Regions from separate parts of the Homo sapiens genome. Here regions 2, 3 and 4 are each linked to region 1. Evidence: promoter capture Hi-C in human tissues and cell types (Jung and others, 2019). All regions are on one chromosome and are shown on one strand. The core of a region is centred on a gene start or on the middle of the fragment in contact, and the rest is flanking DNA. Distances in the headings are between cores, read along the strand shown.

What was found. Contacts are between HindIII fragments. The study calls those that stand out against the background at their distance.
Region 2: a fragment that was not itself captured here is called in contact with the fragment with the promoter of FAF2 in region 1 in 1 of the 25 tissues and cell types used here (hippocampus).
Region 3: a contact is called between the fragment with the promoter of NSD1 here and the fragment with the promoter of FAF2 in region 1, in 1 of the 25 tissues and cell types used here (hippocampus).
Region 4: a contact is called between a fragment that was not itself captured here and the fragment with the promoter of FAF2 in region 1, in 1 of the 25 tissues and cell types used here (lymphoblastoid cells).

The regions. Positions count from the first base shown.
Region 1 is chr5:176,447,079-176,449,714 of GRCh38, reverse strand. It overlaps FAF2 (Fas associated factor family member 2), which reads right to left and starts at 1,330. Exons shown (of 11, transcript NM_014613.3): 1 at 1,245-1,330. The coding sequence starts at 1,307. RefSeq lists enhancers at 1,250-1,309, 1,620-1,679, 1,760-1,949 and a silencer at 1,390-1,439. The HindIII fragment of the contact is 18,873 bases long and covers 1-2,636 here.
Region 2 is chr5:177,290,545-177,293,180 of GRCh38, reverse strand. NSD1 (nuclear receptor binding SET domain protein 1) reads right to left here. Exons shown (of 23, transcript NM_022455.5): 22 at 1,023-1,227. Among named protein-coding and RNA genes, the nearest start is that of RAB24, 12 kb to the left of the region's middle. The HindIII fragment of the contact is 5,839 bases long and covers 1-2,636 here.
Region 3 is chr5:177,132,437-177,135,072 of GRCh38, reverse strand. It overlaps NSD1 (nuclear receptor binding SET domain protein 1), which reads right to left and starts at 1,300. Exons shown (of 23, transcript NM_022455.5): 1 at 1,121-1,300. RefSeq lists enhancers at 98-651, 652-1,203, 1,204-1,757, 1,971-2,265, 1,758-2,309 and silencers at 665-964, 1,025-1,184, 1,265-1,934. The HindIII fragment of the contact is 15,853 bases long and covers 1-2,636 here.
Region 4 is chr5:176,982,193-176,984,828 of GRCh38, reverse strand. It overlaps UIMC1 (ubiquitin interaction motif containing 1), which reads left to right. Exons shown (of 15, transcript NM_001199298.2): 2 at 2,206-2,360. The coding sequence starts at 2,214. LOC124901145 (a long non-coding RNA gene) reads left to right here and starts at 2,367. Exons shown (of 2, transcript XR_007059073.1): 1 at 2,367-2,636. RefSeq lists a silencer at 1-74. The HindIII fragment of the contact is 7,476 bases long and covers 1-2,636 here.

The sequences.
Region 1 (2,636 bases), core at 81-2,580:
TAACTTTAGGTCTATCCTAAGTCAAATTAATAGCAGAAAATACTATTTGGGGGCATTTTGCAGTCTACAAGGCCCTTCTAACATCCATATGTCCATTTGATCTCCCGAACATCCTCAGGAGGTAGATTTTTTTTTTTTTGAGACGGAGTTTCACTCTTGTTGCCCAGGCTGGAGTGCAGTGGCACGATCTCGGCTCACTGCAACCTCCGCCTCCCGGGTTCAAGCGAGTCTCCTGCCTTAGCCTCCCGAGTAGCTGGGACCACAGGCGTGCACCACCACGCCCGGCTAATATTTGTATTTTTAGTAGAGACGGGGTTTCACCATATTGGCCAGAGTGGTCTCGAACTCCTGACCTCGTGATTCGCTGGCCTTGGCCTCCCAAAGTGCTGGGATTACAGGCGTGAGCCACCGCTCCTGGCCTGGGGGTAGACATTTTTAAGACAGTCCTTTCAGAGATAAGGAAACTGGTAACAAAGTGCCAAGGTTACCCACCCTAGTGGTATCCTCCAACCATTCTCCAGCTCAGGGGTAAGTGATCAGTGGCAAATGTTCTTAATACAACATCTTGTATTAACATAACATTTCTGCAAGTTACCACCCTCCTCAAGCATAGTTAAGCACAGGAATCCAGGAATAAGCCAAAAGTAATAAATCCCGACAGACCACTGATGACACTTATCATCTTGCATTGTTTCCTCACTTGGTGTCCTCCCACACCTCTAGGGCGGGGACCAGATCTGTGTGTAGGTGCCCCCTCCCCGACCGGAACCCCCAACACGAAACCTGGTATCCAAGAGGCCCCAGTTTGTGGGAGTGTATGTGGAAATGGCATGGGATGCTGGCAGGAGGTTTTCCTGTCAGAGACCCGAAATGACGCCAACTCCGCGGTGGGGACTAAGCTTCTCCGGCAGATATAGACTCGTTGGGCGGAGAGGGTCCGACCGATAACCGGGCTGGGAAGGATGGCTGAGGACTGACGCCGCTAAGGCAAACCAGGGAAGCTGACACGCTGAGGGCACAGAGGCACAGACGAGGCGGGTCTGCCCGCAGCGATGGCTGGAAGGCTAGGGTCCAACAGAGGCTTGGGGGCCGGGGGAATCAGGGCAGTTGGAGTCTGGGGGGGAGGGGGCCGGCCTGCTGGTCTGAGAAGGATCTGAACCCAATCTGAGGAGGGTTCTGAACTCCTCTAGGGGCCTACTCCCCATCCCACGGAGGCATCTGCTGCACCGAGTACTCGCTGCTACCTGAAACTGCAGCAGCTTCTCTGTCTGCTCCTGGGTTAGATCCCGCTCCTCAGGCGCCGCCATTTTGCCGCCGCCTCTACGCTCCTGACCCGTCCGCACCGTCACCCGCCGGAACTGACCTCAGCCACAACCACATCCGGTCTGAACGGCCGCCGGCGCGCAACTGCGTCTGCGCGCGCTGGCCCACTAACCTCCCCCCGCCCCCCGCCACCTCTGGCCGCCGCCAGAGGGCGCCACGCTCGGGCCTATCCCGAACACTTCCGGAAATTGCCGAGGGACTGTCGGTACAAGTCGCTCTTACCATTTAGGCGACGAAAGGATCTGCTAAGATTAGGCGACGAAAGGAGACCTAAGATTCCAGTGCAGTCTTGCAGAGCCGAGAGGGCCCGAATGTGCCTCGAGAAGCTCCGGAGCATCCCGAATGGCATTCGGCTGATTTCGGCTGCTCTCTAACCATTTTCCGGCAACCTCAGATACTCTTGGAGGTTTCTCGGGAGACGCAGCCGTTCCGAAATACCAGCCTTTTGGTCGCTGGCCCCTGACCTAAAGTTTCCAAAAGCTCCTGACCATCTCTCGGGAGGTTCCGAAGGGCTCTGGATACTGGCGCGGCATTTCCGACGCCGCCTTCGAAGCGGAAGCTGTGGGCAGACTTCGGCCACCGTTCCATTGCCGCTTCGGGGTCACTTGCAGGAAGATCTGGACTCGGCTCCCCGGATCCTCGACCATTCATGGCGCCCCCAGTCGTCCGCACAGCTTGCCGTCCACCGCCGTGACTGCGGCGCTGGAACCCCGGCCCGGCATCTGCTTTTCCGTGCCTGGAGCCTTGTCTCTCCGCACTAGCGCTGCACTGGCCCCTTGTCTCTGTGACAGGCGAAGAAAGATCCCTGGACCGGGATTAGGAGACGCGGGTTCTAGTTGCCACCTTGCCAACTGCTGGACATCCTTGGGCAAACCACTTGGGCTCCATTTTGCCATTTGTTGAATGAGATTCCCCAAAAGCCCCTGACGTGCTGCCGCCGCCCCTTCTCCTCGAGGCAGTCCCCTGCCCTTCCCTTCTGCTGCTTACACTACCCTATCACCACCCCTCAATCTCTATCTTCCTCTGCACGTCCCTTGCCCCTTCTAGTCCGCCACCTCTCTTTAGATTTCCCGTTTTCATTTCCACCTCTCCCGCCGAACGCCTCCTCTGCCCACCTTCCAGAGAGGCCTGGGTCTGGTACACGCTTTTCCACTGACCACCTGTGTGATTCTCAGCAAGGCTCTCGGCCGCCTGCGCCCCACCCTCGTCCCCTTGCAGGGTTGATCCGGTGAGACAGAAAAGGCTTTGAGAGCTGGTTCTGTGAAGAGTACATGAAATTTTGGCTACTTCTTTCAGGACTTATCAGGTCTTAC
Region 2 (2,636 bases), core at 59-2,558, 840 kb before region 1:
ATCAACTACACCAGCTCCCACTCCTGGCACACAGGCAAGATTGGTTCTATCATAGCCTGCGCCAGTGACGACCCTGAGCAGTTGATTCTGAAACAATTCTACTTCCTGGTGCTGACAGGTCAATGTGATGGCCTTGCCCTCATCCTACCTCAGTTTCTTTTATTTCATGACCCTGGCCAATATACAGTGAAGGAAAGCCAATTTGGGGACAAATTCCTTTTACTTATACCCTAAAGTTCTTAACGTTCTGCAACTCTTGGAAGCAGGTCACTAGTAATGTATAATCTCCTCACCCTGGAATGGCTCCCTACTGGTTTCTCTTTTTTGTTCATTAAAATAGATGGCATATCCAAATCCCTAAAATTCTCTAACCCCAAATCACTACTCAAAGGTTCTCAATTTCTTCAACTACAAATTTCCTGGGTACCACATCCACCTGAGCAGCTTTCTCATGTATTAACTGATACAACCAAATCTCCTTTAGAGGAAAAAAGTCTACTCTGCATGGGGGGAGACTGCACTAGGCGTAGGGGAGCAAGGTAGGAAGTGCTAAAAGGGTGGCAATCCATCTCTCACTGACTAGAACCACCTAAAGGCTTTACTATCTCAATCTTTCTTTCTCTAGAAAGGCAACATGATTTAATAGTCTTGGAGTCAAAAACCCAGCTCTCAATCCAGCTCCTCTATCTATGTGTGAAAGATCACCTCCCCAATCCTCACTCTGTTTCTTCACATGCATTATGGAAGAAAACCAACCATTATGGGCTGCTGGGGGAATGAAATAAACATGACTGTAAGTAAAGGACCTGAAACACAGCAAGTGCACCGCTGTCCCATTCTTCATAACTAAGAATTCTAAGCCTTTGCTTTCATTATTTCCAAAATAAGAAAATAGACCATACCCCTCAAAATTATGCATGGAAAGACCAAATGGCACTTTCTTCAAGGCTGATGCAAATGGCATGAGACCCTGAGTATGATGGAGAGAACGAGTAGCGGTACAAATGGATTTTGGCACCAACCTGCTGGTCGCTTGGTCAGATTGAGACAGTCTGCGTGGTAAACTTTTGGGCAGCCTGGTTTCTTGCAGGAGACGAGCTGGCCAGCATCCCCACAACTAAAACACTCATCTTCTCGCTCCTTTGTGATTTCACCCTGGGTCCTGCGCTTTCCCTGTTGCTTCTTCTTGAATTTCTTTGACTTTTCTTCCGTGGCAATGGGTTGATTCTACAGGTCAGATATTGAACAGTCAGCATTCTGTGAACACATTAGTACCAATCTTAACCGGGTTAACTACCCTCTCTGAGCCTCATTCTCTTCTCTGGGAAAAGAGATTGTCATGAAGATAAAATGCAGGAAAGGTACCTGGTACATCACAGATACGTAGCAATAATTTTTGTATCAACTACTCCTGCCACCTGAACAAAACAGAAGACAAAAATCTTTGTGTTTTTGCTGATCCATAAGGCTGGTGTTAAATGACATGCCTTTCATAAGTTTTATTAGTTAATTAATTTATTTATTTTTCAAGACGGAGTCTTGCTGTGTTGCCCAGGCTGGAGTGCAGTGGCGCGATCTCGGCTCACTGCAACCTCCGCCTGCTGGGTTCAAGCAATTCTCCTGCCTCAGCCTCCTGAGTAGCTGGGATTACAGGCGCCCACCACCACTCCTGGCTAATTTTTGTATTTTTAGTAGAGACGGGTTTTCAGCATATTGGTTAAGCTGGTCTCGAACTCCTGACCTTGTGACCCACCCGCTTTGGCCTCCTAAAGTGCTAGGATTACAGGCGTGAGCCACCGCACCTGGCCAAAGTTTCACTTTTATATTCGTCTACTTTCAGAACTAAACTAGACTTCTGTGTGTGGGTACACATGCCTATTTCTCGTTCATTCAACAAAGCATAACTGAACTTACTATAAGCAATGTGTTAAGACACAAAAAAGTTAATTCATGGTCCCTGCCGTCAATAAGACTACACATCAAGTCAAATTAGCTTCAGGTCCACCACTCCCAAGGCAGACCCTGGAGCAGCCAGCAGATGTTCTCTCTTTGTTCCCTGCAGCCCACACTTGGTCACCAAATCATCTTATCACATTCTTCATTTTAACCCAGAAACATCCAGGACCAATCTGTAAGGCTTAATGGAGGTCCACCCTATTCTGACAGACCAGTATCTACTAAGAGCACACAGTGACCTCTCTAGCATCTACCTCTGACTGACTCCTGTGAAATGCTATCCCATGCAGACATCAAGGATGCTGAAACTGACATCCGCACTACACTTAATACCATTAAGTACAGGTTAAACTGAGTTACTATTTTAATTTATAGGAAACAAGTCAACATCTTAAGGAACAACACCGTTAAACCAACAAAACTAAACAAAAAGCACAATAAAATCCAGTATAATATAGAGGTGATTCTCCTTATTTAACAAGATTAAAAAATGATCATTGAGTGCTCTTCATTTCTGGCCAGGCGCAGTGGCTCACGCCTGTAATCCCAGCACTTTGGGAGGCTGAGGCAGGTGGATCACCTGAGGTCAGGAGTTTGAGACCAGCCTGGCCAACATGGGGAAACCCCATCTCCACTAAAAATACAAAAAATTAGCCAGGTGTGGTGGCAGGGGCCTGTAA
Region 3 (2,636 bases), core at 51-2,550, 690 kb before region 1:
CACAGCAATTAATCTGAGTTAATAGGCCATCTGACTCGACTCTTTAAAATGGCAGCCACTTCAAGGCCTAGTGGCCTCTATGCCTTTCTGCTGCACTTCCATGGGCAGAAAAAGTTCCCCCGACTGGAGATGAAAAAATGGCCTCGATGAGCCTCTGAAAACTCCATTTTCCCGAAGCTGGGCCGATCCTGCTACATAGAAACAGCCCGTCTCTTTTTCCTCCTCTGTAGACTGGTGGACACTTGGGATGAACTAAAATTAAAACCCCTCTGCCCGTCAAAATTCCCAATTCTCAAACAGGACTAGTCCTCCCCCTCCCTCGCCAGGGGTCGAGCAGCTGGATCTCTCAAAAGCAAAAGGCTGCGGGGTCCGAGGGGGGCTCCTGGACCCTGCACAAAAAGGTACCCCCCCCTTCCTGGCTCGCTAGGGCGCAGCGGTCACAATAGCGCTGCACCCTGCGCCCAGCCAGCGCCGGAGCCTTTGCAGCGGCGGTGCGCAGGCCGCAGGCGAGCCGGCCGAGGCGGCTGCACCCCAGAGCTCGCCTTCCTGAATGCAGGCCTGCTGGATCCGCAGCTGCAGGGCGAAGAGGCCTGGACCCGGCAGAGGGAGAAACCGAGGCGGCCAGCGAAGCCCAGTCAGGGTAGCAGCAGCTGCTACAGCTCGAAAAACATGGCTGCTGCCGACGCCGCCGCCGCCTGCCCGGGCCGCGCTCCTTCCCGCAGCCGCGGCAGCACCTCCCAGCCGAGCCGATCGCTCTCATCAATATTCAGCAGCAAGCAAAGTTTGCTGCGGGAGGGCAGCCGGCCCCGCGCCCCGCAGCCTGCTACCTGAGGGGAGGCGGAGGCCGAGGTGTTCGCAGGCGGCCGGCGGGGCACGGGCCGCGCCGGGAGGAAGTTCGCGGCAGCCCGGCCAGCTAGGCCTGAGCCCGGCTGGTAGTGATGGAGGAGGGGGAGGGGGAGGAGGCCGGCGGCTGCAGCGCCGCCGGCCACCAACCCCGCATCGCGCCTGGCCCTCCCCCGAGCCCCTCACCTTACGGCCACCACCATCTTCCCCGCCCGGCCACCCTCCTCCCTCCCTTCTCCTCGCGCCTGCCCGCCGCCCACCCCAGCGCACTAGTTACCGTGCCCCGCGCCCCCTCCCGGGCCAGCTGGGGGGAGGGGGTGACCCTCATTACACTGGGGTGCGAGCGGAGCGGTGGGGAGAGAGCGGGGCCGCTCGCCGCACCCCCCTCCCCCCGCGTCTCTCTTCAGGGGAGAAGGCAGCGAGCGCGACCTGCCCCGGCCTATTCCGCCGCCGCCTCCTCCTCCTCACACCCCCACCGCGCGCGCCCCCGCGGCCGCGCGTGCGACCGAGCGCCTCGCGCCGGCCCGCGTGCGGCTGGGCCCCGAGTGCGCGCGCACCCCTTCCCCCACCGAGCGCGCGCGTTCCCTTCTCTCACTCTTCGGGGTTCAGGGCGGGTGAAGTCGGGCTTGTGAGAGCGCCGCCCAATCAGCGGAGCTGCCGCTGCCGCCCCCTCCCCTCCCCCTGCGCGCCCGCTCGCGGCCGGGGCCTACGGGCCGGCCCGGCTGCCCGGGCGGGGCCTGAGGCGGGCTCCCCAGGGGCCTCGCGCGCCTCCTTGGAGTGTCGGGGCCTGCGGGCGTCGTGGGTGGCATTCCGATCCCCTCACCTACCTCGGGGCACGGCGCTGGCCTCGGGCCGCACACGGCTCCCGCACCCTACGCGTCTCGAACCCCAACCCAGGCGGCACCTGGCGCGGCTGAGGCCTGTCCGATCGTCCCGCCAGCCCTGCTCGGGCCCGCGTCAGTCCCGGCCTCCATCTTAGGTTACAGCCCAGGCTCCCCATCCACTGGGCACCTGCCCTCAGCCCGCTGGGTTCGGCCCGAGGCCAAGGCAACCCCCCTCCTGCCGCAGGGCTCACCTGGGGGCTTGGGCTGGGGTCTTCGAGGCCTCAGGCCCCGAGCAGACGCGGCCGCAGGCGAACCCCCTACCCGGCCGCACCCCAAACCCACACCACCACCACCACCACCACCACAGACCAAGCTGAGCAGGAAACAAAATGGAGGCAGCAGCTCGGGTCTGCCTCCCTGAGCCAAGCCTGTGCAGCCCCAGGGCTCCCTCCTGTCTCAGGCTCGACGCCCGCGAGGCAGAGGCTGGATCGTCCCGGGTGCCGCGGGCAGCCGCCCTACAGCAGCGCAGACGGGCCGGGGACTCGGCCCTGCGGTGCCCACAGCCCCTCACCCACCACCCCTTCCCTTCCCCCTCCCCCCATCCCTCTCCCTCCCCTTGCCGGGCCGTGCGGGGTGAGCGGCTCTGGGGAGCCGGGTCGGGTTACCCGCCCCGGCACTGCTCGCCCGGCCGTGGCCTCCGCGGGGGAACGAAGCCAGGCGACCCCAGCGCTGAGCCCACCCCCGGCACCGAGCCGGGCTGCAGCCTGACAGCGCGTCCGCACCTCGGCCTGCAGCCGTGCGGCCCCCGCCCAGGGAGGCCGAGTCCCCAGCCCGGGCCCAGCCGGGACGAAGCTCCCTCACCACCCCCGAGCCCAGGGGTCCTCGCAGCCTCGGGCGGGGCGAGGGGAACGCCGGGGGAGGGGGTCCTCTAGTCCCTGCACCGCCTCCCGCGCCTAGTCAAGGTCTGGG
Region 4 (2,636 bases), core at 92-2,591, 540 kb before region 1:
TGACACAGCACATGTTTCAGAGAGCACGGGGTTGGGGGTAAGGTTATAGATTAACAGCATCCCAAGGCAGAAGAATTTTTCTTAGTACAGAACAAAATGGAGTCTCCTATGTCTACTTCTTTCTACACAGGCACAGTAACAACCTGATCTCTCTTTCTTTTCCCCACATTTCCCCCTTTTCTTTTTGACAAAACCGCCATCGTCATCATGGCCTGTTCTCGTTGGTCGCTGTCTCTTCGGAGCTGTTGGGTACACCTCCCAGATGGGGCGGCCGGGCAGAGGCACTCCTCACTCCTAGATGGGGCGGCCAGGCAGAGGCACTCCTCACTCCTAGATGGGGCGGCCAGGCAGAGGCGCTCCTCACATCCCAGACGATAGGCAGCCGGGCAGAGGCGCTCCCCACTTCCCAGACGGGGTGGCGGCCGGGCAGAGGCACTCCTCACTTCCCAGACGGGGAGGCCGGGCAGAGGCACTCCTCACTTCCCAGACGGGGCGGCCGGGCAGAGGCACTCCCCATTTCCCAGACGGGGTGGCGGCCGGCAGAGGCGCTCCTCACATCCCAGATGGGCCGGCCGGGCAGAGGCACTCCTCACTTTCCAGATGGGGCGGCCGGGCAGAGGCGCTCCTCACTTCCCATTCGGGGCGGCCGGGCAGAGGCGCTCCTCACTTCCCAGACAGGGCGGCCGGGCAGAGGCACTCCTCACTTTCCAGACAGGGCGGCCGGGCAGAGGCACTCCTCACTTCCCAGACGGGGCGGCCGGGCAGAGGCACTCCTCACTTCCCAGACGGGGCGGCCGGGCAGAGGCGCTCCTCACTTCCCAGACGGGGCGGCCGGGCAGAGGCGCTCCTCACTTCCTCCCAGACGGGGCGGCTGGGCAGAGGCACTCCTCACTTCCCAGATGGGGTGGCCGGGCAGAGGTGCTCCTCACATCCCAGATGGGGTGGCGGCCGGGCAGAGGCACTCCTCACTTCCTCCCAGACGGGGCAGCCGGGCAGAGGCGCTCCTCACATCCAAGACGATGGGCGGCCAGGCAGGGGCTCCTCACTTCCTAGACGGGGTGGCGGCCGGGTAGAGGCGCTCCTGACTTCCCAGACGGGGTGGCCGGGCAGAGGGGCTCCTCACATCCTAGACGATGGGCAGCCAGGCAGAGACACTGCTCACTTCTTAGATGGGGTGGCGGGCGGGCAGAGGCTGTAATCTTAGCACTTTGGGAGGCCAAGGCAGGCGGCTGGGAGGTGGAGGTTGTAGCGAGCCGAGATCATGCCACTGCACTCCAGCCTGGGCAACATTGAGCATTGAGTGAGCGAGACTCCGTCTGCAATCCCAGCACCTCGGGAGGCCGAGGCGGGCAGATCACCCGAGGCCAGGAGCTGGAGACCAGCCCGGTCAACATGGCGAAACCCGGTCTCCACCAAAAATACAAAAACCAGTCAGGAGTGGCGGTGCGTGCCTGGAATCCCAGGCACTTGGCAGGCCGAGGCAGGAGAATCACGGGAGCCTGAGGCAGGGAGGTTGCAGCGAGCCAAGATCGTGGCAGTATCAGCAACAGAGGGAGACTGAAGAAAGGAGGGAGAGGAGGAGGGGGAGGGGGAGAGGGAGAGGGCTATATTTTTAATGAGTAGTAGACAAGTTAAGAAATGCAGTTTTGCTTCTGTTAGATAGGGTTATCTTTTTCTTTTACAAGATTAAATTGAGGCTGGGCATGGTGGCTCACTCCTGTAACCCCAACACTTTGGGAGGCCAAGGCGGGCAGATGACCTGAGGTCAGGAGTTCAATACCAGCCTGGCCAACATGGTGAAACCCAGTCTCTACAAAAATACAAAAATTAGGCTGGATGTGGTGGCTCATGTCTGTAATCTCAGCACTATGGGAGGCTGACACGGGTGGATCACCTGAAGTGAGGAGTTTGAGACCAGCCTGGCCAACATGGTGAAACTCTGTCTGTACTAAAAATGCAAAAATTAGCCAGTGTGGTGGCGTGTGCCTGTGGTCCCAGCTACTCGGGAGGCTGAGGCAGGAGGATTGCTTGAACCTGGGAGGCAGCGGTTGCAGTGAGCCAAGATCGTGCCATTGCACTCCAGCCTGGGCAACAAAGCGAGACCATCTCAAAAAAAGACTAAGTTGAATAGCTTCTAGAAAACTTATACTTTAAGTAAATTATGATCTTTTTATTCTAGACAAAATTATTGTCCTTTTATTCTAGACAAAAGGATGCCACGGAGAAAGAAAAAAGTTAAAGAAGTCTCCGAATCTCGGAACCTGGAGAAGAAGGATGTGGAAACTACCAGTTCTGTCAGTGTGAAGAGGAAGCGTAGACTTGAGGATGCATTCATTGTGATATCCGATAGTGATGGAGAGGTTAGTGAAGTAGAGCTGAAAAGTAGAGCTGTAGCTCTCAAACTATGCTTCTTTACCCATGGGGAGTTTGTTTCGTGACTGACTTCACCTTAATGCCAGCTCACCAAAACCATGAAATTTTTACTCAGCTTTGTTTTAATTTGTAAATGGAATGAAGAATTACTTAAGGTAGTAATCCTGTTGCTTGGTTGAGGATGGATCATAGTTCTTCAGTTTTATAATATAGTAATCCAAAGTGGCATTTTGGAACTATTTGAATCATCTAAATCAATTGTA